Linked DNA regions of Homo sapiens: regions 1 and 3 are each linked to region 2. Evidence: promoter capture Hi-C in human tissues and cell types (Jung and others, 2019). All regions are on one chromosome and are shown on one strand. Each heading gives the region's core, a stretch centred on a gene start or on the middle of the fragment in contact. The rest is flanking DNA. Distances are from core to core; before and after follow the strand shown.

Region 1 (4,346 bases), core at 555-3,054, 220 kb after region 2:
GTTTGGCTCAAACAAATTTGAGCCAAAAAAAAAATTTGCCTCAAACAACAGCCCTCTATCTTCTGCAAGGCAGTCATACTAAGAGACAAGGTTAGTTAAGTCTGACAAAGATCTAGGTCCCTTTAAAGCAGCATAAAGCCCACAGAGCTGGGCACGGTGGCTCACACCTGTAATCCCAGCACTTTGGGAGGCTGAGGCAGGTGGATCACCTGAGGTCGGGAGTTCAAGACCAGCCTGGCCAACATGGAGAAACCCCATTTCTACTGAAAATACAAAAATACAAAAATTAGCCAGGCATGGTGGTATGCACCTGTCATCCCTGCCACTCGGGAAACTGAGGAGAATCACTTGAACCCAGGAGGTGGAGGTTACAGTGAGATGAGATCGCACCACTGCACTCCGGCCTGGGTGACACAGTGAGATTCCATCTCAAAACAAAAAAGCACCATAGAACAGGAGTGAACACTGAGATCCTACAGGGACCAGATAAAGTCAATAAGCTTAAGAGAGCCCGGTGAAAACTGCTGCAAAGGGAACTAATTCTCAGCTCCAGTCTGTTACTGTTGTTTGGGAAGTCAGGCCCAGTTTTGCCAGTTCTTCCAATTTAAGAAAAGCCAGAAATCTAAACTTGTGAATAATCTCCCAATTTTATATACTGAAATTAACTTTAAATATTTAAACATCATACAGACCAAAGTCTACAGGGCATGCAATTTGCAGTGTTTGTTATAGAAAGAGTTGAATTTCAAATAATTTCTAACTCATTTAGAGATTTTTTTTTTTCTCCAACTACATATCATCACATGTAAAGAGCATTTAAGGGCCAGGCACAGTGGCTCATGCCTGTAATCCCAGCACTTTGGGAGGCTGAGGTGGGTAGATCACCTGAGGTTAGGAATTCAAGACCAGCCTGGCCAACATGGCGAAACCCCGTCTCTACTAAAAACACAAAAATTAGCCAGGCACGGTGGTGCATGCCTGTAATCCCAGCTACTCAGGAGGCTGAGGCAGGAGAATCACTTGAACCCAGGGGGTGGAGGTTGCAGTGAGCCAAGATCGCACCATTGCACTCCAGCCTGGGCGACAGAGCGAGATGCCATCTCAGAAAAAAATTTTTTTAATAATAATAAATAAAGAGCATTTAAGGAGCTTTAACTCAGTTAATAACAGAAATGACAGTGTTTTGAAAAATTACCTTTCTCTGTATCCTACGAGTAAAATCGTACAAAATATTTAAAGAATTATAGACATTAAACTTCCTCCTGACTCCTCCTGCACTATTTGAAAATTTCCTCATCAAGCACCCCTTCATACTAGAGAAGAAAGCATTATACGTGGGGAAAAAAACCCCTAAGCTGAAGAAAGAGAAAAATGTCAAATTCTGAGTCAATGCGGGATCTGCACGGAGTGAAGAGTGCATGTGCATCTCTGGGCAGGCAGTTCGCCACACCTGGTGAACGATGCATAGGTGTCAATGAGTTGCAGCGTGGCTGGAAGTAGGTTCTTGGTAATCTCAGACGACTTATGAGGATCAGTCTCAGCAGCCATCTTAGAAAAATGCTCATCCAAAGAGACCTGGACCTTTGAGATCGCGGCATCAAGGGTGTAGATGGACTGCAGACTGGGAATTTCATGCAGCTGCAAGATGGTGGTACAGTCGATACTACAGAAGGATGAGATCTTTAAAAATATGCAAAATATAATTAGCTGTGGCAATGGGCTATGGTAGAAACCAAGTTCTATCATTTAGGTTCCAATATTACATACCTGTCGAGCGAAGTATTCCTCTACTATTTCAACATCATATTTCACTGAGCTACACTTAGTGGTGGATGCCAGTTCTAGAAGCGAGCTAGCATGCTCAGCCTTCATTCCCTGTTTGATAAGGTGATCCTATTTGGACAGCAAGAAAAAGTGTTTAGGAGATGACTATAGGCAAAGCTTTCATTATCTTCAAATTTAAAAGCTCCAGTAAGCACAAAGCACTTTGGCTTTGAATAGTCTTAGCAGCAAGCTCTGTGTTACCTTTATCCAGTTGACATAGGAGCTGATCCGGAGCCGAGAAGACCATCGCAGAGTGTGCAAGATGTCACATTCGCTCATCTCAGGTGAGTTCATGGATAGCTGGTTAATGTAAGTCTTTGATGGTGGTAAAATTCCTAGGATCCTCCACAGTATCAAGAAGTAATATTGAAGGGCACAGGCCTCCTGGAGAAAGGAAAAGCAGCATAGAGGTAGCACTTGGTATGGCCTCAAGATCTCCCTCACAGTACGAACTACTCCAAATACAACTTTTAAACCAGAACTGTATAGAGTCCTGATTTTAAATTGAGATTTGGCCCCCAAGTCCATTCTCCAGATCTTTCTAGAGAGTGCACCTAGCAGAAAATGGCAGAACACACATACAAATAATTTGTTCCGTATTCTGCACATTTCACAGACCAAAAAGGCTATTCCAAGACAACTTTGGCTCCCCAATAATTTACCAATTAACCAAAAGAGGGCAGGACATTCTGCTTAGCAGACCTGCAATCAGCTATCCGTTTTTGTGGCCTGGAATTGCTTCTAGAATATAGAGACACATTAACAGAGCCATGGAAAAATCTCAAGCGTGAGGCTTTCAATATCACACATCAACCAGTATTGACAGGAGATATAGCACTTGGGGGGGGACCACTAACTCTTAAATTACAGTTCTCTCAATGGTAACCAAAAAAATGCAACAGCTGATTAAATTATCTTTAAGGTGAACATAGCTACACAAACTACCTAGAAATACTCAAGTATCAGTCAGTTTTGCAAATCAATATTCAATAAACTGGTTACATTTCAGAAGGAAATTTCTGATAGAAATGATCAATGATCAAACACAACCCAAAGACTTCTCAGGGTTCCATGGTCTTACCAAGGCTGTTACATTCTTGTTTTCCTTTCTCCTAACTGTATCAAGCTGGGACCCAGCTGCAAGCAGGGCTGTCAGTGCAGCATAAAGCTCATCATACTTGACAAGCTTGGAGAAAAGGACGTCACATGCCTGACATCAAGAAAGAAAGAGAGTCATTTCCTTACTTTTAAAGTATTTTTTCCTACTGCCTATACACTATCACTTATCCTCATGATTGACAAAATATCCCATCAAATCATAATCATTAATTTCTCCTTGGAACAGATTCCCATTCTGGGACATTACTCACACTGTTTGCAAGCTATTGTGAGCACACAGCTGCTGGCTTTAGAATAAGGGAGTAAGACAATTATTTTTGTCCATTAAAATACTTGCATGTGAAAAATGCTAACAAAGACTGTCTTCAAAAATCAAGTGTCAGAGGTGCCAATCCAGAAAGGACAAACCCCACAGCAAAAGTGCACCCAACAAATAAATATCCAAGTAACATTTTCCTATTAGAATAAGCTCAAATCGTAACACAGACCACATTTCCTCACTATAAAAAGTCAGTCATTCCCTTTCCCCCCAGTAGGCTGATTCTGGTGGAAACCATCTGACCCACATATAAAATGCAGTTTTAAAATTCCTAGTACCACAGAATCAAGTCGGTTCAAATCATCCTCTGAGGCTTCTGGGGACAGGACACAGTAGAATCTGGGGTGTGGGACAGCATCTGAAAAGTAATATGCTGATTAAAAGAATGGTTCCATTCTTAACTCTATCTGACTAGTATGCAATGTAAAACTCAGAAAATACTTTATAATAAGGTTTCCCAACCTTAACAATATTGACATCTGGAGCCAGATAAGTGTTTGCTGTGGGAGGCCATCTTATGCACTCTAGGTGACTTAACAGCAGCCCTGGCCTCTACCCCCTGAATGCCAGTAGCACCCCCAGTTGTGACAACCAAAAATATCTAGACATTGCCAAATGTCCTGGAGGGGAGAGGGCAAAATCACCCATTGAGAACCATTGCTCTAAGAGTTAAGTAGGGTGCCCTAGAATCAAATCAATCAACAAATTATATCATTAGTCTGCACACATTAAACTTACATGCTGTTTCCCTAACATCAAATAGTAAAAGATAACAGTAAACTCACACTAAGGCTTCACAAAAGTTTCCACAAAACACACTTAACATCTAATAATCCTCAGGGTAAGTGCAAACACACACTAAAAATGAACACAACAAACACTTCATCCAAAGAACAGACAATTGCTATATGAGAAAAACACTAGAGATAATCTCATGTTCACATTCGTTTCAGACCAGCATATCACCAAGACCCAAAAGGAAATTTAGCTATACATTAGAACCACAACTCTAAGGGAAAATAAGGAAAATTAATGACACAGAGTGGCAAGAATCCATATACTGTACCCTATGGCCAGACACGAG
Region 2 (4,818 bases), core at 2,117-4,616:
TTTTAAAAAATGTTTATCAAATGTCTGCCCTCCTCCCCAAAGAAAATTCTTAGGGATACCCAAAACATACTACTAACAAGTTAGCATGTTAGTAGAACCCAGTGAGTTAATATTAAGAACTTAAAGGTGGGTGAGCACATTTTTATCACTGTATTAACGTCTTAATGTTCTTTTAAATGATCATTTTTATTAGATATTCAAGGAAACCCTAAAGCATCTCTAAGAAAGCCTGGGGTTTCAAGGACCGCAATTCTAGCCCCCCCTCAACCTCACTTCACAGACGGGGAAACTGAGGCCCCAGGAAAGGAATATACCTGCTTTGGAAAAATCCAACATGAGTCTTGAGTTAACTTCAGAAAATAAATGGAAGACAAGGTGTGCACGCATCCCAGAAGGGCGGGAAGAGAGACGCCCGCACTCCACCTGTCTCAGCAGCACCGTCTCATTCCAGGCCAGCGCCAGAAGCTGACATCACACCCCACGCCCTGGGTGCAACTTGAATAGATCGTTGCTCAATGCCAACCCATCTCCCTCCAAGACTGGGCACGGTTTTTCCATCACCTTAGTAGCCAGGTCCAAAAAGCACACACACAATAAAACAAACACAACACAAGCCTGAGGCATGACAACACAATCAACAGTGGCAGACAGGAGGGCCCGGCCCATCCCTCCCCAGTTTCACCATTGAGAGCAAGTGCCTGCTTCCCTAGCCTGCCCCAATGACATTGACCATGAGGGGCGGCGAGGTGGCCTCCCTGTGGCAAGGCACCAGGCGGGCCATTCTCAAGTCCTCCAGAGAAACAGGTAACCCAGGAGAGAAGCCCGTCTCCCAGTGGAGTGTAAGACCTACCCCCAGGAAGCTAGGCGCCACATGAGAGAGCTTGAGGACTCTCAGCATTTCTACTCCCTGCTAGCTTGACAAAGTGCCTATCATCTTTAATAACACCAGCATGATTACTTTATACCTCCCAAAGAGCATCACCATCCTGCTGTCTCCTCGAGCAACTGTGGGCAGATTTTATTATTCCCATTTCTCTGATGAGCAAACAGGCTTTCAAGTGATTTGATAATCTCACCAGCAGGTATAAGGCTGGCATTTGAATCCTACCCAGTTGCTAGCCTGTCCAATGGGAGAATACGGAAGGAGACCTATGCCCAGCTCCCTGGACAGACCTTTAGAGATGGAAGGAAGGGTCCTTCTCAGTACATCCTCCAAGCCCTGGAGTTCAGAGCCAATAGCTCCGAATGGAAGGCTGCCTGTGCCTGGAACAGCGATTGCCAGGGCCAGAGGGCCCCTTCCCCAGCCAGGCCTGAGATGCCAAAGACAGACCCTTCTTCTCTTATGGGAAGAGGAGGAGGATAGGAGACCCCTCTCCTCTTATCGGAAAGCCAAGCAGACAGTATTGTCGGCCAGACTGCAGACAGGAAGCAATGACAGTTTCCCAGCTGGGGAATCTGGGCTAGGCAGGAATGCACTGGCCAGTCTTGCAGAGTCTGGACCCCAGTTCTAGCCAGAGATTGTGGTCTCAGTCCATTCAATGTCCAGTCTCCAGCCCAACATTATCTTCTCCTGGGGGCTTTTAAGGCTGAGTTTGTTAGGGCTCAATAAACCATGAGACTCAGGGAGTGGGGAGAAGAGGGATGAAAGGAGGCATTTTATAAAAGCTTGTGAGCAGTCTGTTGTAGTTGTGGTTATCCAACCCAGCAAGCTGGACCTTACAGAGCTGGAGCAAGACGGCAGACACTGGCCCCAGGGGGTAGGGGCAGATCCATCCATTTTCAAAAACGTGATCTCATTTAATTCAAGAAATAAAAAGGCAGTGGGTTGGTTAGAGTTTTTCTTTTCATATGTTGAGGGAGGGGAGCATATTTCCTACTTCCTTGGTAAAAATACTTATGCTAGGAGACAGACTAGCCAGGAGTGGTTAAAATCTCTGGTTGAAATCCCGGTTTCACCACTTACTCGCCAAGCCACCTTAGGCAAATCACTTAGCATTTCTGCACCTCGGTTTCCTCATCTGCGAGATGAGGATAAGACTGCCTTACACAATACGCTGTATTGTGCTGAGAATTAAATGAGATCGCATAAAACACAGACAGTTATTATGTCACCTAGAAAACAATGTGCCTCACCAGTGACAGCATCGAGGTGGCCCCCACGGTAGCCAGCGCCCGCCCCCATCCTGGGATCTAGATAACTGGGCCTTCCTGGCGTACGTAAGACGCTCTGCAAACACAGCTTCCAGCCCACCTGCCAGTACCAGCTGCCCGCCCGGCCCCCGTCCCGCATACGCATTCCGCGGCAGCCTGGACCTGGGCGCCCCGTCCCAGGGCGGCGGGGGAGGGGCGGCCACTCACCTCCGCTTATACTCGTCGCGCTCGCGCTTCACCTTGGCCAGCACGTTGTAGAGCGCGCGGATCTCCGGCGTGATGGTGTCGATCTGCACGCCCACGCCGTCGGGGTGCACCCACGACACGCCGGGGCCCTGCACGGTCTCCACGCCGCCGCCGCCCGTGCGCCGCACCTGCGTGTAGCTCCAGATGGTCCCGGGCAGGCGGCCGTAGTGCTGCGGGTGCGAGCCGCCGCCGGGGGGCAGGCCGCCCAGGGCCACGGCATTGGCGTTGGCGCCGGCCGCCGCGCCACTGCTGAGGCCGTGCCCGCCGCCGGGCGCCGGGGGCCGCAGCAACTCGGGCCCGGTCTGCACGGCCTGCTCGCGGGAGAAGGTCTTGTAGCGCAGCCGCCGCTCGCGCTCGCTCTGCTGCTGCTCCAGCTGCTTCTCCAGCAGCCGGTTGCGCCGCTCCAGCTCGTGCACCTTAGCCAGGAAGCAGCGGAAGCGCACGTTGAGCCCCTTCAAGAGGTGGATGTTGGAGCCCAGGTCGTCCCGCAGCGCCGCCGTCACCGGCGACGGACCCGGCCCTGCCCCGCCGCCGCCGCCGCCCCCGCCAGGGCAGCCCCCGCCGCCGCCGCCCGGCGGGCAGCCGAAGGCCAAGGCCATCTCCCCGAACAGCAGCGAGTTCACCATGCGCCGGCTGCGCGGCTCAGGGCCCCGGGCCCGCGGCTCCAGGTGCGGCTCCAGCTCCGGGCAGGGCTCCCGGCGCGGCCGGGCCAGGGTGGGCGCGGGCTCCAGCGCGGCCGGCCGGGCGGTTCCAGATGCGCGCCAGATGCGGCCTCCGCAGAGACGGCAGGACGGATGGCCCCGGATGCGGGCGCCGAGGCGAGAGAGGGCACTCGGCCGCTCCTCGGGACGCGGTGGAGGCCGCGGTATCTGCGCGGGGCCAGAAGGGTCGCGGGTCTCACCGCCCGGGCTGTCAGAGACGCTGTGGAGGGGCCGCGGCAGCCGCACGCAGAGGACTCTCGGCCGGCACTGCCCCTTCTGCGGCGGGCCCCGCCCACTGCAGACACTGGCCCCGCCCCCGCCGCGGCCCCGCCCACCCCTCCTCCCTCTGCGGCGTTCCCCGAGCCCGAGGCTCCGCCCCACGAGGCCCGCAGCGCCGGGCCCCACCCACAGACCCTCGGCTCCGCCCACCTCCGGGTTCTCCCGCTTTCTCCGCAGCATAGACTCCGCCCAGCTCCCCGGCGGGGCCACGCCCTCTCCTGCGTCTGGTCCTGCCTCCCCGCCGGGTGCCGATTCTCTGCTGGGGGACCCGGACCGCAGAGCTGCACCAGGGACCGGGTTAGCTGGAACCGCCGCAGAGCCAGCCGGGCCTCTTAAAGGGGCCAGCAGCCTCGGCAACGCTCGCTTTCCACTTTTTAGGGCGCTCCTCTCCCACGTCGCCTGCCGAGAGGGCTCCGTTTCTCTGTCCTCTCTGCCCGCAATGCCCCTGGCCCCAAATTCCTTCGGATGTGCGCGACCGCGGCTGGAAGGGCTGGGGGACCACAGTATCCGAAGGTGCATCGGCACCCCACCCCCACTCTAGCCTGGGGAGGCCCAGATCGACCTTTCGGGGATAAGAGGGCGCCCGTGCCCCACGCTGCGGACCCGGGGGTGGGCTCCTCGAATGCTAGCTGCGGGCCTTGTCCTCTCGAGATCGGCCCGGGCACAGCTAAGCCCGCTGGTTCCCCCGCCCACTGAGGAGCCGAGCAGCATGGGGGTTGGGGAGGCCGAGCAAGACCCTCCCGGGATGACACCCACAAACTCGGCCTGGGCCTCGCCTCTGCTGAGCTGCTCAGCACCTCCCCACCACCCACACCCACACGCTGAGATGAAGCTGACCCCGAGAGCTGGGGATTCATTTCACAGACATGGGGCTTAGCGGGCCGCCTGGGGCAGACCGAGGCAACCCGAGGACCCATTCATTCATTCATTCATTCATTCAAATGTTTTCACACCTACCACGTTAAAGGCCAAGTTCTCCAGTCTCTGGTGTCTCCTGAACCGTGTTGCAAACATTAGTATATGTCAGGCGCCATACTTATTTATTATCCCCATTTTACAGAGAAGGTCACTGAGACGTTAAGTAGCCACAATGGTCCAAAGTGCATGCTCTAACCGGCCTTCCACAATGCTGGCCTCGGGCCTCGTGTCCATTTCCGCATTTGGTCCTCACCGCAAACCTCAGAGGGGAGGTGACCCCCACCTTGAACCCCCACCTTTGAACGCCTGTGGCTTGCATTGTATGCACTTAACCAGATATGTGGCATGTTTCAGATACTTCCGACTGCATTTTTTACTAGCAGTTTAATTTTTGTCTTGTTATTAACTTTTGTGTTTGTTTTGTCTCTTTGTATGTAAGCTTGAGGACAGGCACACTGTCTTACATGGACAATGCCTTGGTGTTCTTGGTGACAAAGGAGACACGGGCTTGCCCTGGAGTGAT
Region 3 (4,491 bases), core at 1,653-4,152, 200 kb after region 2:
TAGTCTTGCCATAAATTTTTACAGCATCTATCATGGTGACACCTGCTGGATCCACCGAGGCCCCAACTGCAATAAGCAAGAGAGGCCTTTAGGAAGCACATTCTCTAAAAAGCCACCCCTCCAAAGCAAAGACCAGAACAGTTGGAGCAAAGAAGTAAATCACGTCAATTTTATAGACATAGAGAAACTTTATCTTCTGAGATATTTGCAGCACTTTAATCGTGTATATATGCTGAATACATGTGGTAAAAGTTCCATGGACCAAAAGCCGATTACGTCTCCTACTCAGAAGAGTCCCTAACCATCACTGCAAGGGTCCTCTTCTGCTTCAGAGTATTGTATCCCCTACCCCTCACTCCCAGGGGTCTCTACACACTTTCTTTGTTCAAAGTACAGATCATGATCATTCACACTAACAGCAACTATATCTAGAAGAAAGAATATCAGACAGTGGCCAATAAATGACAGAGAAATGCAGTCTTGAGTAAGGCTCAAGGATTTGTATTCTGAGAGTTTAGTTTTCAGTGGCATAGCAAGCCATTGCCAACCATCTCTCAGCCATGTGTGACCTGAGGTCTTCCTCTGTGCGTTAAGAAAGCCTTGCAATTTCATGTCAATCTGCCTCCTCTCGGCCTAAACACAGAAGTAGCCCCATTAGTGAGGTGGACACAACACTATTGAAATGAATACTCAACACAGTGCAGCCCTATCTTTACTGCTACCATGCTCCGGTGTACTCCTTTCCTGTCACCTTGCCTCTTTAATACATCAAATGAAGCTCAAAGTTTCCTGATGAAAGGACAGAAAAATCAGCAGAGTGGAGAGATCCCAGAATGTTGGACAGCCACAGGCCAGTGGCTCCCAATTTCGCAGTCACAATGAGGACAGAGTCTGCACCAGGGGTTGGTGACTCACTGAAGAGGTTCAGCTTCTTATCAGCCTGCAGGGCTTCTTCTCTGGTGAAGGGGAAGTCAAACCAGCGTGAGCGACTCAGGTTGAGCTGCATAGTTCTGCCGAAGATCTCGATATATGACGGGGCCCGTTCTATTGCTTGAGTCCCAATCTGGATCCGCATGCCTGTCATCACCATAGTGCTATTGTTGTTACTAATCTCAATGGTGAAGCCTCCGGGCTGTAGGGAGACAAGGCACACATCAAGAAACTACAGAAGTTCTTAAGTTTTAACTAGGACTCCTTCTTCTCTGACATTGTCTCAACATGTGAAGCTCATTAAAACTTATCCTTTTAACTCCCTGGTAATGACTTCCTTGTTTCTAAAAATGGGAAAATAGGAAAAGAGAGCAGATTCTCTTCAATGTCAGGCTTCCTTCTCCCCAGTATTAACCACCTCTTTGATGTCCTCTACACAGTAATCCTGCTGGTATTGGTGGAAACCCAACCTGTACAAGTCCTTTGCCAAGTGAGTAAGAATATCCATTTTTCTAAGGAACCATTTAACTAGAACCGAGGGTTGTGACTGTGAGTATATACTCTATACTTGCTTTCTAAAAGGAGATGTGTTCTCAAACCATATTGTTTGAGTCCTTCTACCCAGGGATTGATCCCAGCCCAGTGCCATTCTTACCTTGGTGTTGGCCACATACATGCCAGTGGAATTCAGCCGGTGTTTTATCTGTTGTGCATTATAGACCTGTAGGAGGTCGTTACCACCAAACTCCACATCTGTCAGCTGCTGGTTGTGTTCAAAAAAGTCAATGGGGAAAGTCACCTGGCTAGACGTGCGGGTTGCTGCAGAGAACGGTACCAGATCGTCAAGAGTCTCTCCCACCTCTGCCCCAACACCACTGGTAAAGACTCCTCCCAGACAGAGCCCACACTCACACTCTAATCTAAGCAAACTCTGGATTATAACATTTGCATCGGCATGATGCCTACATGTGGTTAGCTCTCCAATGGTTGTTATCCCTAACTATGACATGTCCTAGCAATACCAAGAAATCTGGCATTGGTATTGGGTGTACAGCTAATAACAATAGGCTCTCCTGTAACTGGGTTATTTAAAATAAACAATAGGAGCTACTTCTTTAATGAATGTAAATGAATAAACCATTCTTTCAAAATAGACTGTAGAGCAAATTTAAGGTAATGTGATGATCCCTGTAATGGTCTTTGCTTAGCTGGATTTGCTCACTGCTAAACTCAAGCTTTCACTTTCCTGAAGAGTCCTGAGTCAGTCAAGTGCTAGACCACCAGCTCAGAGACCTGTGGTGGGCTCTTCACTACTCAGTGGGAAATTAACCAGCTGAAGAGGTCTATACTTCAATCAGTTCTTCAGGGAAGTCATTCTCCTAAACCTAGAGAGAACAATCTCTCAAATAAGGTCCAGGACATAACTCGTTACTAGGCACCAAAGAACTGCTGGCCTGAAACAGGCAGCCAATGGGTGCTTGACATTTGGAAACATAACTCTGCTTTTGGGAAATTAACTTTACAAAATGTGCAAGTAGGACAGTCACATTTCTTCACAGATATTTTCAACAGTCTATTCTGAGTCACTGTCTAGAAGACCACCATTCCTACTCCCCCACAAGTCATCTGAGAAGGAGCCTTACTGATTGTAGCTGTTTTGCGCTTTCGAACAGGCTTCATGATGCTGATGACACTGCTGGGCTGCAGGGATGGCTGCAGCCAGTAGGAGGTGTTCTCCACGTTGGCCATGTAAATGCGCAGGCTGCCATCCTCACACAGCAGAATCATTGTTGTCCGCTGCTGCTCATTGCAGGCCGTGTGCCTAATAGCAACCATGTCTTGGATCTAGGAGGAGAGGACAAAGGAGGGTCTTCGTTCCCACACCCACAGATCAGCATCCTCACAGAAAAAGAGGCAGAGATGCAACTGGTTTCATGGTCAGTTGAGGGGCTGTACAGAAGGGTGGCAAAGAAAAGGCATCTAGAAGAAAAAGGACTGAAAATCTTTTATGGGCCTCCATTGAAAGAGCTGGGAAAGTGAAATGAATATACAAACATAAAAAGAGACCAGGTTCACAGCAAAGTAATGAATGGGAAAATCTGGCACTGACCTTCGCTTTAGCAGGAAGAGTCTTAATCTCCTGGATAAGAAAAGTGTCTGGTTTCACCATAACTACCAGCGGCACCCCTGTAGTTTGCTGGACACAGCACACCAAGCCAGGGTGGTTCATCACCTCAGACCACTGGCAAAGAGCAGGAGAAGTCTTACTGCCACCATTGGAACTGCAGACAACAAAACTGGCCACAGTTAGAGTGTCAGTCACCATTTAATAGTTCTTTTCTTGACCTAAAAACCATCCTCTAACTGGCTACGTGACTCCAAAGCAATATCCTTGGCCAGGGACTCAGATTATCCACAGGTTAGTTTTATTCCAAGCCATGCACACATGCTCATACACCCCAATGCGTGCTTATGGCAGGGCAGTCCTCATTTGGAGTCTCCACTGTGAGGTTCCATGTCCGAAGAACAGGTGGCCCTATGTGCCTAGAGGCTATCAACTGCAGAGGGCCATGGAGCTGCCTAAGGCTAATGACCCATTGTCCTATCAGGATCTCCAAACACATCGAGTTAGTGTGAACTGGTATCCATTTTATTTCATCCCAAACCATGTAATTCCCAAAGAAAGGTCTGAGAGAAAGTGCTACAATGGGTCATCAATGGCAGATAAGAAACAAGGGAAGACACCATAAGCCTCTTCTTCCTCCTCCCTAAATGAAACTCTCACTACCTTACACACCCCTCTATTATTTGCAAACTTGTTGAAAGTCTCTTCCTCCCCCATATCCAACCATGCCCCCATTACTGATACGTTCTATTTGCTAACAGAGTAAGTCTCCCCAGGAGAAAAACTTAAAGGGCATTATGGCAGAATGAGTGTCTAAGAGAAATTTAGGTTCCCTTCTCACATTAAAATCACATTTATAACATTAACTATAGGTTTTCCTTCTGAGTAACAGTGGACCCCTAAACTACCTCTGACAGCTTGGGGTCTCCACAGTGGAGGACAAACCGTGCAGACAACCCAACCTGCCAAACCCGGATGTTCCTTGATTTTAAAGATACCTAGCAGGGGAGAAAAAAAGGTTGGCTGGAGAAAATTAAGTTTCACAAAACTCAGAACAGATAGCAGATAGTGGGAGTGGAGATCCCACATTGAATGTGGACATTGCGGAAGTTGAACATTAAATGTTCATTCCCACCTTTTGATGTTGATGGGGAAGAGTTGCAACACCTCCAGGGTTGTCCTGCTGATGGTGGCTGCGAATGATTTGCCTTGACAATAGCTGAAGAACAACATCTGCAACACGTGGGAGTAGTACACGGACACACCACCGCCCGCCACCTGGCTGTTACTGTCCTGCTGGCACAAAGACACATATTTGCAGTAATTCATGTTGCCTTGGCTACCAACTTCCGGTTTATACTGGTTATTATTTTCAATCATGATCAGGTGCTCTCATACTCTAAGCATGAGATCCCTGTGGGTAAATCTTACAAAGA

The links. Contacts are between HindIII fragments. The study calls those that stand out against the background at their distance.
Region 1: a fragment that was not itself captured here is called in contact with the fragment with the promoter of IFFO2 in region 2 in 1 of the 25 tissues and cell types used here (lymphoblastoid cells).
Region 3: a fragment that was not itself captured here is called in contact with the fragment with the promoter of IFFO2 in region 2 in 1 of the 25 tissues and cell types used here (liver).

The regions. Positions count from the first base shown.
Region 1 is chr1:19,171,414-19,175,759 of GRCh38, forward strand. UBR4 (ubiquitin protein ligase E3 component n-recognin 4) reads right to left here. Exons shown (of 106, transcript NM_020765.3): 21 at 3,541-3,620; 22 at 2,906-3,034; 23 at 2,026-2,208; 24 at 1,768-1,893; 25 at 1,451-1,680. Among named protein-coding and RNA genes, the nearest start is that of UBR4, 37 kb to the right of the region's middle. The HindIII fragment of the contact is 4,514 bases long and covers 1-4,061 here.
Region 2 is chr1:18,953,310-18,958,127 of GRCh38, forward strand. IFFO2 (intermediate filament family orphan 2) reads right to left here and starts at 3,367. Exons shown (of 9, transcript NM_001136265.2): 1 at 2,359-3,367. The coding sequence starts at 3,023. RefSeq lists silencers at 2,120-2,309, 2,550-2,809, 3,380-3,549. The HindIII fragment of the contact is 10,098 bases long and covers 1-4,818 here.
Region 3 is chr1:19,150,728-19,155,218 of GRCh38, forward strand. It overlaps UBR4 (ubiquitin protein ligase E3 component n-recognin 4), which reads right to left. Exons shown (of 106, transcript NM_020765.3): 44 at 4,191-4,348; 45 at 3,041-3,212; 46 at 2,574-2,775; 47 at 1,586-1,749; 48 at 916-1,132; 49 at 1-66. Among named protein-coding and RNA genes, the nearest start is that of UBR4, 57 kb to the right of the region's middle. The HindIII fragment of the contact is 5,835 bases long and covers 1-4,491 here.